Regions from separate parts of the Homo sapiens genome. Here region 2 is linked to region 1. The links are contacts of gene promoters, found by promoter capture Hi-C in blood cells and fetal thymus (Javierre and others, 2016). All regions are on one chromosome and are shown on one strand. The core of a region is centred on a gene start or on the middle of the fragment in contact, and the rest is flanking DNA. Distances in the headings are between cores, read along the strand shown. Region 1 holds the start of SYNGR1 (synaptogyrin 1). Region 2 overlaps FAM83F (family with sequence similarity 83 member F).

Region 1 (2,700 bases), core at 182-2,681:
GCTAATTTTTGTATTTTTAGTAGAGACCGGGTTCACCATGTTGGCCAGGATGGTCTCAATCACTTGACCTTGTGATCCATCCACCTTGGCCTCCCAAGGTGCTGGGATTACAGGCGTGAACCACTGCGCCCGGCCTTCTCTTGTGCTTTCTTCTAAAAGTTTTATATAGTCATAGTAGACACCTTATAAGTGTGCTGGATTAAATGTGAAAATGTATGTAAAGCCCTTAGCACAAGGCCTGGTAGAGACTAAACAATCAGCTGAGCCTAAGATGGACATTGACTATGTAATTTTTATAAGGAGCACCCTCAGGCCCAGCACACATTTCCTCCACACAGATGTTGTGTCCTGTCATCACAGAATGGCAGGATACCAGAGAAGCAAAAGCCTCCACCCATATCCTCATCCAACCTGCTCCTGGAACCAGTGAAGGTGACTGCAGACATAGAGAGGCCATAGAGCTACAGGGCAGCAGGAGAGCCAGCCCTGGAAGGTGGCCCTTCCCCTGCAGGGAGCACTCCTCCATCTAGCCTCCGTTTCCATGAAACCTGGAGGTCTAGCCCAAGCTGTGATGGGGTGATGGGGACTAGGCTCTGTTTACTGAGCACCTACTGTATGCTAGGCCCTTGGGTAAGGCATTGAATAAGTTAGACAACACCTGGGCCTCGGGAGCTCACAGACTAGCAGCAGAAGAGGCCATGAACAAATGATTGCGTAATTAATTGCTAGATTCAGGAAAGGGGCAACGTTCTGGGGTAGGAGGGGATGGGGAAGAGGAAGTCTCAGCCGCCGCCTCTGTGCCAGGCCCCTCCAGGCTGGGGGTGGGAGGGTGCGCGGGCACAGGGACACACATGACGTCATCGTAAGAGGCAGGGGAAGGGTGGTCCTGGGAGGTGGGGGCTGCTCTGGAGGGCTGTAAGAGAGGGTCATTCACTCGTGGTTCATTCATTCGAGAAATATTCATGCGGCGCCTACTGCGTACCAAGCACCCTCTAAGAAGGACGAACACAGCTCCTGCCCTCTCATTATATTTGGGGCCGACAAAGTGGCAGGAAACAGCCAAACAAATCAAGCGTGAAGATGGTTTCAGCAGAGCCGACGGCTCAGAGGGGCTGCGACCGGGGCAGGGGACCGGGGATGCGGGGCAGGGACACGGCCCACACTTGCTGTGCACGCACCGCCCTCCCCCAAACACTTTGCAAAGAGGTCACCGCACTGGCTGCGAGCGCGCCCTGAGCCCCGGGCCGCAGCACGCGCGCCCCCGCGCCCGAGGTCGCGCGCTGCCCAGCCCCCCGCCCGCGCCCCGCGAGCTGCGCCCGCCGCGCACGACGCCCCCTCGCGGGAGCCCTGGGCCGCCGGCCGCGCGCGCAGGGGAGGGGGCGGGGGCGCCGCGCACGCGCACGGGCCGGCGGCGCGCGCCGAGCGGGGGGCACCGCGCGGGTGCAGCCACGATGGAAGGGGGTGCGTACGGAGCGGGCAAAGCCGGGGGCGCCTTCGACCCCTACACCCTGGTCCGGCAGCCGCACACCATCCTGCGCGTCGTGTCTTGGGTAAGGACGGACTGGCCGACGGCTCTGCCAGGCCGGGGTGGTGGGGGTGTGAGCAAAGGCGGCGCGCCCGGACCGACCCCGACCCCGACCCCAACGGGCCCCCGGCGGCGGCGCGGCGGCGGGCGAGGAGCTGTCCTGCCTGCGGGGCCCGCTGCCGCCGCTCCTCCTTCCCGGGCCCGGGGCGGGCGGGATCCCTGGTGCTCGCGGGAGACGCCGCTCCGGCTCCCGGAGCCCTGGTTTCCTGGGGCCCCCGGTTCGTGCGCCCCCCTTCCCGCCCCGATTGCTGTGACCTCCAGGCCGCGGCTATGCCGCGAAAGGCTCGGATTGTGCGCGGCCGCCAGGGCGGACTGGGGACCGTGGGGACGGAGCCAGGGTTTAAGGTGGCCTTTTTTGGGGGGTGGATCAGGGCGTGGACCATCTCGGTGGGGTGCATGCCGCGCCTGCGATGGACGTTGGAGGAGGAGAGGGCCGGGAACCGGGTTCGTATTGCCTAGCCCGGCCCGTGTGGAGCGATGAGTCGGGAACTGAGTACCTCTCTTCCACCCGGGAACTGCCTCTCCTTCTCTGCGTGACCTTGGGCTGGGAGCCACCCAGGAAATGTTCTCGAGAAATGAGGACTTCAATTCCGAGGTGGGGAGTGTCATCTCCTCTCTCATGCCTCAGTTTCCCAATTTATAGACAAGGTGGGCGGAGCCTTCTTGAGGCCCCCTTGGGCTCTGACATTTCATGAACCGGTAACACCCCTCCCACTCAGCATGCACCTGGATGCCCAAGGCGGGTGTCTGGGAGAAAGGTCTGCTCCCACAGTGAAGAGGCCAGGGTGGCCTCCAGCCTAGCTGGGGGGCAGGGTCCTCAGTGCAGAGGGCTGAGTGGGCTCTTGTTCAGACGGGTGGTCAGGGAGAGGATGGGTCAGAGACAGTGAGCACAGAGGGAGGGGTTCAGGTGCCTTGAGTGGCACCTCATGGAAAGAAGCCCTGCTGGGGTCTGGAGAGGGGGTTTCTGGGGCTCCCTGGGTTTGGCTGGCTGTATCCCAGAAACTCCCACTCGAGGTTCTGGCCTCTGCAGGCCTGGGGCCCGTTCCTTGTGGGCTTAGACTAGGAATGGGCTAGACTGTCAGGGACCCCAGGGGCTACCCCAAGGCCAGCTGTGA
Region 2 (2,860 bases), core at 203-2,702, 690 kb after region 1:
GACAGGCAGAGGAAGAGGGGGCATCATAGGCAGCAGAAACCACATGGACAAACTCTCTGCCGGAGAATGGGCATGGCCGGGCTGAGGGGTCCCTGGACAGGAACCAGCCTTCCCTATGCACCTGCACCCGTGAGTCTCACAACAGCCCCAACAGGCAAGTGTTATTTTCCTCAATTCTACCAATTAAAAACTGACCTTGGGCAACTGCTTAACCTATCTCTGCCTTACTTTCTTCATCTGTATCTACCTCAGAAAGTTACTATGAGGACTGAATAAGCTCATACATATACAATGCTTGGAGCAGAGGCTGGTACTAGAGCTGGCTTCATGGGCATGAAACCTGTGAACACAGAACCCCATGCTTTCATTTTCCACTTAGTCCTGCCTGGCATAGTATGCAGTTTTTTTAATTTGAGATGGAGTCTCCCTTTGTTGCCCAGGCTTGAGTGCAGTGGCGCGATCTCAGCTCACTGCAACCTCCACCTCCCAGGTTGAAGCAGTTCTCCTGCCTCAGCCTCCTGAGTAGCTGGGATTACAGGTGCGCGCCACCATACCCAGCTAATTTTTGTATTTTTAGTAGAGATGAGGTTTTGCCATTTTGGCCAGCCTGGTCTTGAACCTCTGACTTCCATGATCCACCTGCCTCTGCCTCCCAAAGTGCTGGGAGGATTACAGGCATGAACCACTACGCCTGGCCTGGTATGTGGGTTAAAATGTTAGGTTTTATCATTATCTTAGGTGGAGAATAACAAATCCGATTCAATATATTCATTTTAGAAACGAGGAAACTGAAGCTTAGATAGTTTGTGTGACTTGCAAAAAGTCACGCAGCAAACAAGCTGCAGAATGAAGGGTGGAGATGGAGAGATAGAATTCTCATCTTAGAGGTGAAAGTAGGATAATGACCCAGCTGAGCTTGCTGAGTCCTGCGAGCGTCGCACGCCCCCAGAGACAACATAAGGAGAGAAGTGCAGACAGATTCCTTTGAAGGAGCTTAGAGAAAGAGATGGTAGGGAAAAGAGCATGAACAGTTGTAGAGGTAGGAGGAAAGCTGGCTATTTGGGGAAGCAAAGAAAAGATTCTCAGAGTAAAACGTATTGGTGAAGCCATGGAAACAAGGACTGAGAAAGTCTCTTGGATCTTGGCCACAAAAAGGTTATAGATGAGCTTAGAGAAATGAATTTCAGTAGAGTTAGGGCTAGAAGCCAGGTTCAGAGAGAGAAAACGAGAGAGCATTCCTGGTGGTGGAGATGGCCGCAGGCCATTATTTAAAAAGCTAGGATAAGAAAATAGAGAAGAAAGGGAAGGAAGCTATTTGAAGGGAGTGGGAGAAAAGCCAGATCTCAGTTGGGACGTGGAGGAAGGACCACCAGAGGCAGTAATTTAGCCGGAAAGAGGTGTATTTCTTTCCTTGAGTTTATAGGGGGTAAAGAGGATGGGGCTGAGATACTAAAGACTACGAGGACAACTGTTCATTGAGGGCTGGTCATCTCCCCAGCTGCACTGTGGGGTTCCCAAGTCAGACATCCCAGAGGCAATATAGCAGCGTGGACAAGAGCTTACTCGTTGGAGTCAGACCGCCTAGGTTCAACGATGGGTTAGTTAGCCCTTCAGTGCCTCCATTTTCCTATCTAGAAAATGTGGATAACAATGGTTGTTGTGAAGATTAACAGCCATAATCCACGTAAAGCCCTCAGTACAGTGTATGACACACAGCAAGTGTCCACCAAAGGGTAGTTATTATTAACCATAATCCTGGTTCTCTTGTGAGCTGCCTCCTGTGTGTCTAGCATTGGCCAGCACACATGAGGGGGTCCAGTGTTTGCTGCTTAACTAAGTAGCTTCTCAGGAAGTGTGGTCATAAAAAATGATAGGTGATTTAGAAGGTGAGACAGACACAAGGGATGTGTTGCACAGTAAATGCTCCCAGACATGCAATAAATGCTTATAAGCATGCCCTCTGTAATCAGCCCTCTTTAGAGAGTTTCCCTGCCTCATTGCTCTTGGTCTTTGGCAATGGCTACACCCACTGCCCAAGCAAGCAGTATCAGCTGTCAGCTGTCCCCTTGTCTTTTGGATCAGATTCCTTTACAGGGATCTTCCCATTGTTATAAGCTTCAAGAATTGGAGAATGCTTAATGAACACTTCCAAATTCTTCATAGCTATGAGGGGCCAGTGCAAAGGGCGGAAGGAGTTCTTCTGTGTCACAGAAATTAGAGCTGGAGCAGATCCAGCTTGCTATCCCCCCTTCCCCCAGCTTGTGGGTTATTGCAGAATTGTTCACAAAAATTCCCATTGCCTTGGAATTTGTCCAAGCCGAGGGCAGGGATCACAACACAACCTCTCAAGGGAAAAAAGGAAGGCCTGTTGCTTGAGATGGCTCAGAGCACTTTTGGTAGCCAGCCAAGGCAGCTATCACTCATGAAATCTGCCTTCCCCTCCAGCAAAAAGCCAACTGTATAGAACACCACATATAGAGCGCTAAGAATAGCACAGCGCTCCAAGAACATAGTGCACTTGGCCTGCATACAAGTGTGCAGGGCTTAACGAGTCTTTTTACTCTGAAAGCTGGGTGGGTTGGAACAAACAAACAGAAAAATATTTTCCCCAAGTAGCATGCAGAGAGGAAATGAGAGCAAGCACAAGAGAGCACCCTGGCATAGCATTCTCTGACCTGGGCTGCCTTTTCAGGGTATGAGTTGATTCCGCAGGCACCAAGGCATGCCTGTAAGCCCTACAGGGCAGACGCCCTCACCCCAATCATTGGCTTAACATTCACACCAGGCTGAGTAAGCCCCAAAAGTCCTGCCATTGGCTCTGACAGGAATTGAAACCCATCTTCTCCACAATAAATATTTG

Evidence for each region. Contacts are between HindIII fragments. The CHiCAGO score rates a contact against its expected background, and 5 or more counts as called.
Region 2: a contact is called between a fragment that was not itself captured here and the fragment with the promoter of SYNGR1 in region 1, in 7 of 17 cell types (M0 macrophages, M1 macrophages, total B cells and 4 more). The highest score is 10.0, in M0 macrophages.

The regions. Positions count from the first base shown.
Region 1 is chr22:39,348,560-39,351,259 of GRCh38, forward strand. It overlaps SYNGR1 (synaptogyrin 1), which reads left to right and starts at 1,432. Exons shown (of 4, transcript NM_004711.5): 1 at 1,432-1,550. The coding sequence starts at 1,452. RefSeq lists a silencer at 1,479-1,638. The HindIII fragment of the contact is 7,483 bases long and covers 1-2,700 here.
Region 2 is chr22:40,038,712-40,041,571 of GRCh38, forward strand. FAM83F (family with sequence similarity 83 member F) reads left to right here. Exons shown (of 5, transcript NM_138435.4): 5 at 1-2,860. Among named protein-coding and RNA genes, the nearest start is that of TNRC6B-DT, 4.4 kb to the right of the region's middle. The HindIII fragment of the contact is 1,321 bases long and covers 793-2,113 here.